Regions from separate parts of the Homo sapiens genome. Here all the other regions are linked to region 1. Evidence: promoter capture Hi-C in human tissues and cell types (Jung and others, 2019). All regions are on one chromosome and are shown on one strand. Each heading gives the region's core, a stretch centred on a gene start or on the middle of the fragment in contact. The rest is flanking DNA. Distances are from core to core; before and after follow the strand shown.

What was found. Contacts are between HindIII fragments. The study calls those that stand out against the background at their distance.
Region 2: a contact is called between a fragment that was not itself captured here and the fragment with the promoter of PCDH8 in region 1, in 1 of the 25 tissues and cell types used here (lymphoblastoid cells).
Region 3: a fragment that was not itself captured here is called in contact with the fragment with the promoter of PCDH8 in region 1 in 1 of the 25 tissues and cell types used here (H1 embryonic stem cells).

Annotation. Positions count from the first base shown.
Region 1 is chr13:52,846,995-52,850,461 of GRCh38, reverse strand. It overlaps PCDH8 (protocadherin 8), which reads left to right and starts at 1,822. Exons shown (of 3, transcript NM_002590.4): 1 at 1,822-3,467. The coding sequence starts at 2,026. RefSeq lists enhancers at 1-88, 1,434-1,728, 1,859-2,748, 2,749-3,467. The HindIII fragment of the contact is 11,047 bases long and covers 1-3,467 here.
Region 2 is chr13:52,597,100-52,600,566 of GRCh38, reverse strand. LINC00345 (long intergenic non-protein coding RNA 345) reads left to right here and starts at 204. Exons shown (of 3, transcript NR_184203.1): 1 at 204-349; 2 at 3,272-3,394. The HindIII fragment of the contact is 4,159 bases long and covers 1-3,467 here.
Region 3 is chr13:52,984,490-52,987,956 of GRCh38, reverse strand. No RefSeq gene overlaps it. Among named protein-coding and RNA genes, the nearest start is that of OLFM4, 43 kb to the left of the region's middle. The HindIII fragment of the contact is 5,602 bases long and covers 1-3,467 here.

The DNA of each region.
Region 1 (3,467 bases), core at 573-3,072:
CCAAGACTACAAGGTGGAAGAGGTGGAGAAGGGAACCCAGAGACACACCCCTCTGAGGAAGTCTCCAGCCACTCATCATCCCCCTCCCCAGTCTTATAAGAGCTTGTATTTATGGATGGCTGGAGCTGCATGTTCCGCTCTCTGACAATTCCAAGCACCTCTCATCCCTGCCACCCAGCTCCCTGCTTGGTCTCCCTACTCCAAGGAAACTCCTGACCCTCTTCTGAAAAAAAACCCAAAACACACTCCCTCGAGTTTGAGGGAAAGGAAAACATGGATAGGACGCTGACAGCAGGACCAAAATCGGGATTCTGAAGAATGTTTACTGAATTCAATCTACTTACCAAACCTATCGCCTAAAAAGAAAAATTTCTTCCAGTGAGTGGCTTTTGTTTTTTACCTTTCCTCCTTCGTGTGTATTTGCATAGCCTGCTCAATAAAGCCCTTCAGTAAGAATCATTAAGAATCCGTCTTGTTGCAGATCCGAGCTCCATCTCCCTGGCCGTCAGGGATGGGAGGGGGCTATCTGTGGGGCAGCGCAGCGCCCGGCCAGCCCCAGGATCCGCCCAGCCCAGATTTTGGCAGTGCCGAAGCTCCACACTTTCCTAAGCAGATGGTTAAGTTCCCCCCACGTTCCTGCCAGGTTTCAACGTCACGCTGTGATTTTGTTCTTCTGGAACCGGACGAGTGTTGCTTCCCAGAGTGGCCCTATTAGAACAGAAAGAAAATCCTCTAAATAGGCGGAACAAGGCATCAGGAGGAAAAAGTTCTCTAAATGCACTTTAATACGAGCCGGGTATTGTGTGGAATTCAGCGCCCATCACCGTTTAGCCGGAGAGTTATGGCAGTGATTGGGGATGAATAGAGGAACATAATGGATACATGTGGCGTTTGCTCATTATATTCAAGTTAGTCCAACTCCGCTGTGGAAACTGTTCAACTTTCTCTCCCCTTAGCTTGTCACAGTGAAATAATACAGACATTGGGGCCTCCAATGGGATCGCCTGCCACACCATTCTATTTCCACTGCTAACGAGGGCTTCATAAGCCTTTGATACAGTCTGATCTTTGAAACCTTTCCAAATCTCCTCAAGCTTATGCTAAATCCTATTTGGAACTTTTTTTTCCTTGCCTGCTAGCTCCCAGGGCTTAAGAAGGCCACTTGGACAGTGACGTGCATACTAACATATCGCGGGGCTCTTTTCTGAAAGGGAAGTGGCAGCTCTGATCACTGGGGCTCACACGAGCAAAACACAATTGAGTACACAAATTTGAATAAAATCAATTTTCCCTTATCCTTCAGGCTTCTTAATCGAGAGGCTATTCCAGGCACCGTAGCTAGGAGAGAAGGAAAGCAGAGCCTCATTCAGCAGAGCAAGTCTGTGGGTAGGGGGCTGCAAGGGTTTGGAAGCGTCAGAGGTGCAAAATGCAGAGTGTGTGTGTTGGCAGGGGCTGGGGGAAGGCGGAATCAGGAGCCACTGGGGTGAAACCCCAGCGTGTTCGCACTTAGTTCTAGCCGCGGCACGGAGGGAGGCAGGCGACAATTAACAAAACCATCCGCTCCTTTTACTCCTGGAGCCCTGTGCCAACTCCTCTACATGCAGGGTGCTGACAAGAAAAGGGGGAAAAAGCAAAAGGAGTTAAACAAAAGAAAGATTCCCTAATTTTCCTTTCTTGTTTTCCCCTCTAAGCCTTTCCACATTAAAGGGATTGTCAGAGGCAGGCGGAGGGGCGACGCGAGGGGGAGGCGGCCATTGGCTACCCGGCTCGGGTGATTAGCATATCGGCGGCTATAAAGGCAAAGGCGGCGCGAGGCGGCGCAGCTTCTGTAAGAGACGGAGAGGCGCAGAGTGAGGGCGGGTCCGCGCGTCCTCAGAGCCCGCTGGAGGCTCGGAGCTGCTACCCGCAGACTTCTCCCGCACAGGGCTCGCAAAGAGCGTGATTCCGAGAGCCTGAGACTGACGCCCGACCTGGAAACCAGAGAAGACTTCCTTAGCCTTTCGGATCGCACTTGAGGCTGGAGGCATGAGTCCTGTGAGGCGTTGGGGCAGCCCCTGCCTTTTCCCCTTGCAGCTCTTCAGCCTCTGCTGGGTGCTCTCAGTGGCCCAGAGCAAAACAGTCCGATACAGCACCTTCGAGGAGGATGCCCCCGGCACGGTCATCGGGACCCTGGCCGAGGACCTGCATATGAAAGTATCGGGTGACACAAGCTTCCGCCTGATGAAGCAATTCAACAGCTCTCTGCTCCGGGTGCGCGAAGGCGACGGGCAGCTGACCGTCGGGGACGCCGGCCTGGACCGCGAGCGGCTGTGTGGCCAGGCCCCGCAGTGCGTGCTGGCCTTCGATGTGGTCAGCTTCTCGCAGGAGCAGTTCCGGCTGGTGCACGTGGAGGTAGAGGTGAGGGACGTCAACGACCACGCGCCGCGCTTCCCCAGGGCCCAGATCCCGGTAGAGGTGTCCGAGGGTGCGGCAGTGGGCACGCGCATCCCCTTGGAGGTGCCGGTGGACGAGGACGTGGGCGCCAACGGGCTGCAGACCGTGCGCCTGGCCGAGCCGCACAGCCCCTTTCGCGTGGAGCTGCAGACGCGAGCGGACGGCGCTCAGTGCGCAGACCTGGTGCTGCTGCAGGAGCTGGACCGCGAGAGCCAGGCCGCCTACAGCCTGGAGCTGGTGGCCCAGGACGGCGGCCGCCCGCCGCGCTCCGCCACGGCTGCCCTCAGCGTGCGCGTCCTGGATGCGAATGACCACAGCCCGGCCTTCCCGCAGGGCGCCGTGGCCGAAGTGGAGCTGGCGGAAGACGCGCCCGTGGGCTCCCTGCTTCTCGACCTGGACGCAGCCGACCCCGACGAGGGACCTAACGGCGACGTGGTGTTCGCATTTGGCGCCCGCACCCCGCCGGAGGCGCGCCGCCTCTTTCGGCTTGACCCGCGATCAGGCCGCCTCACCCTGGCCGGGCCCGTGGACTACGAGCGTCAGGACACCTACGAGCTGGACGTGCGGGCGCAGGACCGCGGACCCGGGCCCCGCGCTGCCACCTGCAAGGTCATCGTGCGCATCCGAGACGTCAATGACAACGCACCCGACATCGCCATCACCCCGCTGGCCGCCCCAGGCGCGCCGGCAACCTCACCCTTCGCCGCTGCCGCCGCCGCCGCTGCACTCGGGGGAGCGGACGCTAGCTCGCCGGCGGGAGCCGGGACGCCGGAGGCTGGTGCCACTTCGCTGGTGCCGGAGGGGGCGGCGCGCGAGAGCCTGGTGGCCCTGGTCAGCACCTCGGACAGGGACTCGGGCGCCAACGGGCAAGTGCGCTGCGCCCTCTATGGGCACGAGCACTTCCGGCTGCAGCCGGCCTACGCGGGCAGCTACCTGGTGGTGACCGCGGCGTCGCTGGACCGCGAACGCATCGCCGAGTACAACTTGACGCTGGTGGCCGAGGATCGCGGCGCGCCCCCGCTGCGCACAGTGCG
Region 2 (3,467 bases), core at 519-3,018, 250 kb after region 1:
CGGGGAGCCCAGAGGTAGGAAAGCACCCGGAGACGCAGGCCTCCGCCTTCTCCAGGGTCTGCAGGCAGCGCTGCGCGGGGTCGCCGACTGGGCTGGGCTGGGCTGGGCTGGGCGCGCCGCGGCCTGGCGCCCACTTCCGCTCCTCGGCAGCTGCGGAGCGCCCCGGGCGGAGGGAGAGGGGCGCGGGGCGGGCCTCGGCGCCCAGGCGGCGTGACCTTCCCGGGCGTCCAGGGAAGCGGCGAGAGCTGCCACGCACGTGCCGCGGGACCCGCGCGCCGCCCAGGGATGGCCCGCCGGGGTCGCTGGAGAATCTCAGGGTCATCGGCCTCCTTCCCCCAGTGCCTACCTGGTGGGAACTGTTGTCCTCCTTTGCCCCCAAGTCGTGTCATTTGGCCGCGGGCTTCCGCGCCGCCAGGGCGCCATCGCTGGGCAGCACGGAGCCGCTTCTGAATGGAGACTTGCAGGCTGCCAGACAGTGGGCGGCTGGGCAGGGGCGGCGAGCGTTCAGGGCCGGGCAGAGAAAGTGGGAAATGTCTCCTTAACCTGTTCCTTGCGAGGCCGGGGAGGAGGCGCGCCTGTCCGGGTTCCTTGGCGGCAAAACTGGTTTGCATCCGGGCGCCCTAAAGCCCGGGCTCTGGGGACTAGATGGCGAGCTGGCCGGCAGCTCCTACCGCCCCAGCTTTAGCCAGAAGCTGGGATCTTCCCGCAGCAGTTAGTGTTCCCTGGTGGAAAATGCGGCCTCATCTGACTCTACCGTCCAAAAAAGTTTTTTCCCCAAGGATCGAGAAGGACGGGTGGTCAGCGCTGTTGTTTTCTCAATCGAACCCTGGTGTAGTGTGAGAGGGATCAAAGGCGCTGAAGAGTTTTTCTATTCCAAGTGCTACAGCAAGCTCATAAATCAGTTCTAATTCATGCTGAACAGTCTTGCCTCCTCCAAGCCCTGTTTCTTCTCCCAGCTAGAGCTACACATAACCTGAATTAACCCGTTAACTACCCACTCCTGAGTGAATCTGTTAGTACCCACCATTGTTTTCTATCTTAATAATTCCAGAAGTGGTTATTTGTAGAATTTAATGTGTTTAAGTTTGGCTCACCTAACGGGGTTGAATTCACACGGGCAGACAGAATGCAATGTGATGTGACTTTCATTCCTTCCAAGTTACAAAGGAAGTGGCTGCGCCAAAAGAAACAAACGCATTGAGGTTTATCTGGGAGGCCAGACTGGACATGCCCTGTCTTCTCAGTTGCCTTTGTTTTTTTCCTTCCTCCTTTTTCCTTTTTTTTTTTTTTTTCCTAAAATGCAGGGTTGGGTGTTTTGTGATGTTTTTGCCCAGGTTGGAATACTCGGATCAAGTATTGGTTTGTAGGCACAGACCTGAAGGACAGGACTGAACTGGCTCCTCTGTCACTGACTAGTTGTGTGGCCTAGGAGACCTTGTCTTGCTCTGGCCTTAGTTTGCCTTCTGGAAAAGGATTAGGACCCTGATATACTTTTTTAGGAAGATACCAGATGGCCATCACCTTTTCAGCCTAGTAAATGGTCCTGTCTCTCCAGGTCTATCAACAGCATATAAATCAGTGTCTTGCACTTCTAACTTAGCTGCTTTGTTAAGTACTGTGCCTTTGTTGCCATTGGTTTTAAATTTTTTTTGTAAATTAAGGAAGATTCTTGAAGTCTGGTCATTGGCAAAATGCTTCAAGTAGTTAAAAAATCTTCTCGGTGGCCACTGTTTTCTGTTGACGTTCAGGATGACACTGGTGTTAGGAAGTCACTTGGTGTTCATCTCTGATCCAGCACGACTGGGGTCACGCGGCTCCTCAGTGCGATGACAAATAAATTGTTCCTTATTATTCACAAAGAAGTTACTTGAAAATTATACAGGATTGGTTGTTGAACTGGATATTTTAGTCAACATTTATGAAACCCATGCCTCAGCAATAGTTGACTTTTGTCTAAAGGGAGAGGAATACATTCTAGTTTTCCCAAATGCCCAAGGCTCCAACCGAAACATACTGAATCAAGATTTCCAGAAGAAAGGCCTGATAATTAGAATATTTAATACGTGCTCCAGGCTGGGCAAGGTGGTTCACACTTGTAATCTCAGCACTTTGGGAGGCTGAGGTGGGTGGATCACTGAAGGTCAGGAGTTCAAGACCAGCCTGGCCAACATGGTGAAACTCCGTCTCTACTATAAATATAAAAATTAGCCTGGTGCAGTGGCATGCACCTGTAATCTCAGCTACTTGGGAGGCTGAGGCAGGAGAATCACTTGAACTCCGGAGGTGGCAGTTGCAGTGAGCTGAGATCGTGGCCGTTGCACTCCAGCCTGGGCGACAGAGCCAGACTCCATCACAAAAAAAAAGGGGGGGGGTGGGGGGTGCTTCAGGTTATCAAGCAAATTTGGACACAATGACCGAGGTGTTGTATTTCAAAGTGTGAGTCCGTGGACTGGCATTGTCCATCTCACTCGGGAGCTCATCAAGACGCCAAATCTCTGGTCCCATCCGAGGCTATTGAATCAGAAGCTGCATTTTATTTAGCAAGGCCCCCAGGCGACTCCTGTGCACATTGACAGTTGAAGGGCTAGTGGACTGTGGTCACAGGAAGATGCTTGGTGCTCTGTGCAGGGCCTTGTTCTGAGAACACATGATGCTTGTGCACAGTGGAGCATCCCATCAGTCTCATGTGGCTATTTGCGACTGCCTTTGTTTTGTAATAGTGTTATTATTTGCCTTGTACAGATGAGGACTCCCAGCTGTAGAGGCCAAAGGGGCCACAGGTAGAGGAGGCATTCACACCAAGGCGTGTGTGATTCCAGGGTGCAGCTCTCACCCTTGGCTGCCTGAGTGCTCCTTTCCAGACCTACTGTCTTGTGACATCCCCTTAGGCACCCAGCACAGGCTGCTGTCTGATTTTAGAACTGAGCCTATTCAATTGATAGCTCAACTTAGGCCTGTAAAAACAGTCTGCTGTGGTTTGGTACATCTGTGGTTGGCTTGTTTGGTGTTCATTTTACAGTTTTCAGAAAGGTTGGTTGAAGTGCTATTGGTGACAATAGCATTGATACGCAGGGAAGCTTTTTGATCTGTGACCTTTTTAGGGGGCAGTCACTTGCTAAGCTGCACTGATACTTTGAGCCCGTTTCCTTTGCAGCAATGTAGAGCCCAGTTCATGGATCCCAGAAGTTTAGGTTCAGTAATTTGGCTGCAGGCCTAGAGAACGGGAGGCTGCAGAGACTTGGACTAATGGTGAACTCTTGCCTCCCCCCAGGATATGTGGTGCCTGTCATAAGGTCCAGCGAGCTGCCTTCCACGAGACCAGCAGAAGAGTGGGCAAACGTGAAGTCCAGTCCTGCTGCCCAGGCTGCCATTGACCTCACGGCGGGGGCTGCAGGTACAGTCATGCGCTGCATAAACATGTTTCTGTCGGTGATGGACGGTGTATGTGGTCATGGTCCCATGAGATT
Region 3 (3,467 bases), core at 530-3,029, 140 kb before region 1:
GTTGAAGAATTCAATATTGCAAAGATGTCCATGGTTTCCAAATTGATTTAGAGATGCAATGTAATTTTACTGAAAATTACCACAGTTTAATTATGGAACTTGACAAATGGATTCCAAAATGCATATGGAAACGCAAAAGCCAAAGAGTAGGCAAGACATTCCAGAAGAACGGAGTGGGGTAGCTGATGTAACACACATGAAAAAATATTATAAAACTATAATCATTAAGACTGCATGCAAGGGTGGCATCTGATTATATAGGGCCTGAAGTTTATGTAGTTTGGGCACACTTCTACATAAAATAATACAAAATTATAAATATTAGATTCAGGATTCATGCAAATCAGGGGTGCTGAAGTGAGGAGGTACTGAGGTTTAAGCTTCTTTAGCTTCTGGTAAATCAACATTCAGCTGCATAGTAATGATGCTGGAATAAACAAATATCCCAATGAAACAGATTTGAAAGCCCAGAAACAGACCCATGCATATATATGGACACTTAATTCAAGGCTGAGATATAATTGTAGATCAGTTGAGAAATGATGAACTTTTTAATGCTGGAATAATTATTAATATTACTCTGGAGGCTTCCTCATACCATAATCCAAAATCAATTCCAGATAATTAAAATTTTAGATGTGGGAGGCAAACACATAAAACATAGACAGGAAAATATTGAAAAAAATATTGTTATTATCTCAAGGCAGAGAAGACTTCTTAAAACACAATATGTAAAAAACACAGAGAAAAAGATTTTAAAATTTGACTATATGAGTATTCTGCTCAGTACCTGGGTGACAGGATCAATCATACCCCAAATCCCAGAATCACAAAATATACTCATGTAACAAACCTGCACATGTACCCATGAATCTATAAAAGTTGAAATTTTTTTTAATTGGACTATATTAAGAATGAGTTTGCATCAAGAGACAATATAAAGAAAGTAAAGAAACAAAATACAAATTGAGAGACTATACTTTCAAATATACTTAATTGGCAAAGTATTACTATTCCAATATATAATATTTCATCACTATTAAATGCACTTTTCTTTCATATTTAACATCTCTCTAATTAAGATGCATCTTATAATCAACACTGTCACAATTTAATTGCTAGCGTTTTTTTCTTAGTGTAAATAAAATAGCAGCATCTCTTACAATAAGTATTCTCCTAAATTCAATGAAATATACTATAAAGAACTACAGATTAACACACAATGAAAGGCCAACAAAAGTCAATCAAAAATGGACAGAATATTTGAACAGGTACTTCACAGAAACAATAATTTGAATACCCTATAAATATGTGGGGAAAATGCTCAGCCTCATTAGTAATTAGGGAGATGCAAATTAAAACTATAACGAAATACTGCTTCATACATGCCAGATTGACAAAAATTAAAAGTTTGACAACATCAAGTGCTAGAGAGGATGTAGAACAACTAAAATGTTTAAACTCTGCTGCTGGGAGCATAAGTTTGTACAATTACTTTGGAGAACATTATGGCTTTTTCTAGCCTAAGATGCATATAACCTATGACTCGGCAATTCCAACCCTAGGTTCATACTCAAGATAAACTCTTGCACATTAGTACAGGGGACATGTACAAAGCATGTTCATAACAGTACTATTTGTAAGAGCAAAACTTAGAAACAACCCACAAGGACAGATAAATAAATGTGGGGTAGTCTCAGAATAGGATGTTATACATCAGTGAAATTGAATGAATGATAGCCCTATTCACTTACAAGGAATAATCTCTCATGAACGTAATTTTGAGCCCAAAAAAAGTAAGTTGCCAAATGCTTACAGGATGACTCCTTTTGTAAACAATGAAAAGCATGCAAAACTAAATACTATATTATTTATGCTGCAAATACATATTTTGAAGCCATAGAAAAGCAAGACAATCCTGAACACAATATTCACAATCATGGTTGTATCTAAGGGCCGAGGGAAAGAGAAGGATTAGGAAGCAACACTTCTGGGTTTTAGAGATCATTAAAATATTCAGTTTTTAAAACAGGGTTGTTAATATACATAAGTTCTTTGTATTGTTATTCTTCTTACTCTACACTTATATGTGTTATTTTAACATTTACTCAATATTTGACTTCTTACATTACAAAAAATTAAGGTCTTCACATCTAACTCATTTATCTACCAATATATTGTACAACCCTGATAAAAATCAATCATAAGTACATTTCACTCTCTAATATCAATGGCAGAGCCACCTGGAAATGGGTTAAGGCCAGTGTGTTCTTTCAAAGAAGGCAAATAGGCCTGTGGGTGTACTGGAAATATTTTGTTTAAAATAATACATATGAAAAAATTTTTTTTGCTAAATGGAAAAGTGTTAGTTATCTAGAAAATACACTCGTGTAGACAGATTTGAATACTCATGATGACAGATGAAGTGTTTGTTTAAAATAAACTCATTATAAATAAAAGTTGTCATTTTTTTCCACATCCAATGGAAAGCACCTCCACTTTGGAAAACACTAATCTTTTTAAGAAACTAATAAAATAACCTGGATCTCTCAAAAAACTCACGAATATGGATTTCTCAATCTTACTCTCCCCTCCTTGTCCTTCACCCAGCCCAGAAGTCAACTTTTGACAGACACGTTCAGAAAGAAATTTGCCAGAAATTCAAAGTCATAGAACACTTATTCAAGAAAAATTAAATCATAGAGGAAGGTTTTCCATGGTAAAATTGAACACTAACTTTGTGCCATGTTTGATGCAATATGCTGGAGATGAAACAGAAGGCAAAACCAGACAGGGTCCCACACTTAGGAAGCTTTCAGTCTAGTGAGGGAGACAGTCATTAATCAAAGAATGACTCGGATCACAGTGAAGATGATTGAGATAAGCACCACATGGGATTGTGAGAGCATAAAATAAAGAGAAATGGCCTAGTCAGGGATGACTGAGCCAAACTATGAAGGAAAAGTAGGCATGATCTAGGTATGCGTATTGCGGAGAGGGGGCAATGAGAGACGGTGGAAAGAAAATTACAGGCAAAAGGACCAAATAATGCAAAGACACTATAATAGAAATTGCACATGGTTTATAATCAGTAATCACACCAAGGAGAAATATAAGACAATAATAATAAATAAGTATACAGTAGTTAAGTGAGTAAATAACATGTTAAACTATTGAACAAATGACAGCTATTTCTTATCTAGACTTCAGTGATTATAACTAATATTTTTATGTTATGGACAATATCTATGTATTTTACAGTTTCAATTCAGGGTATACTTGGGAATATATGAATATTTACATGGTGAACTCAAGAATAAAATGTAAAAATAATGGCAAAAAAATTGGTGCATTTAAAATTGGTGGATGATATGGTTTGGCTGTGTCCCCACCCAAATCTCATCTTGAATTTTAGCCCCCATAATTCCCATAGGTCATGGGAGGGAGCTGGTGGAAGGTAGTTGAAT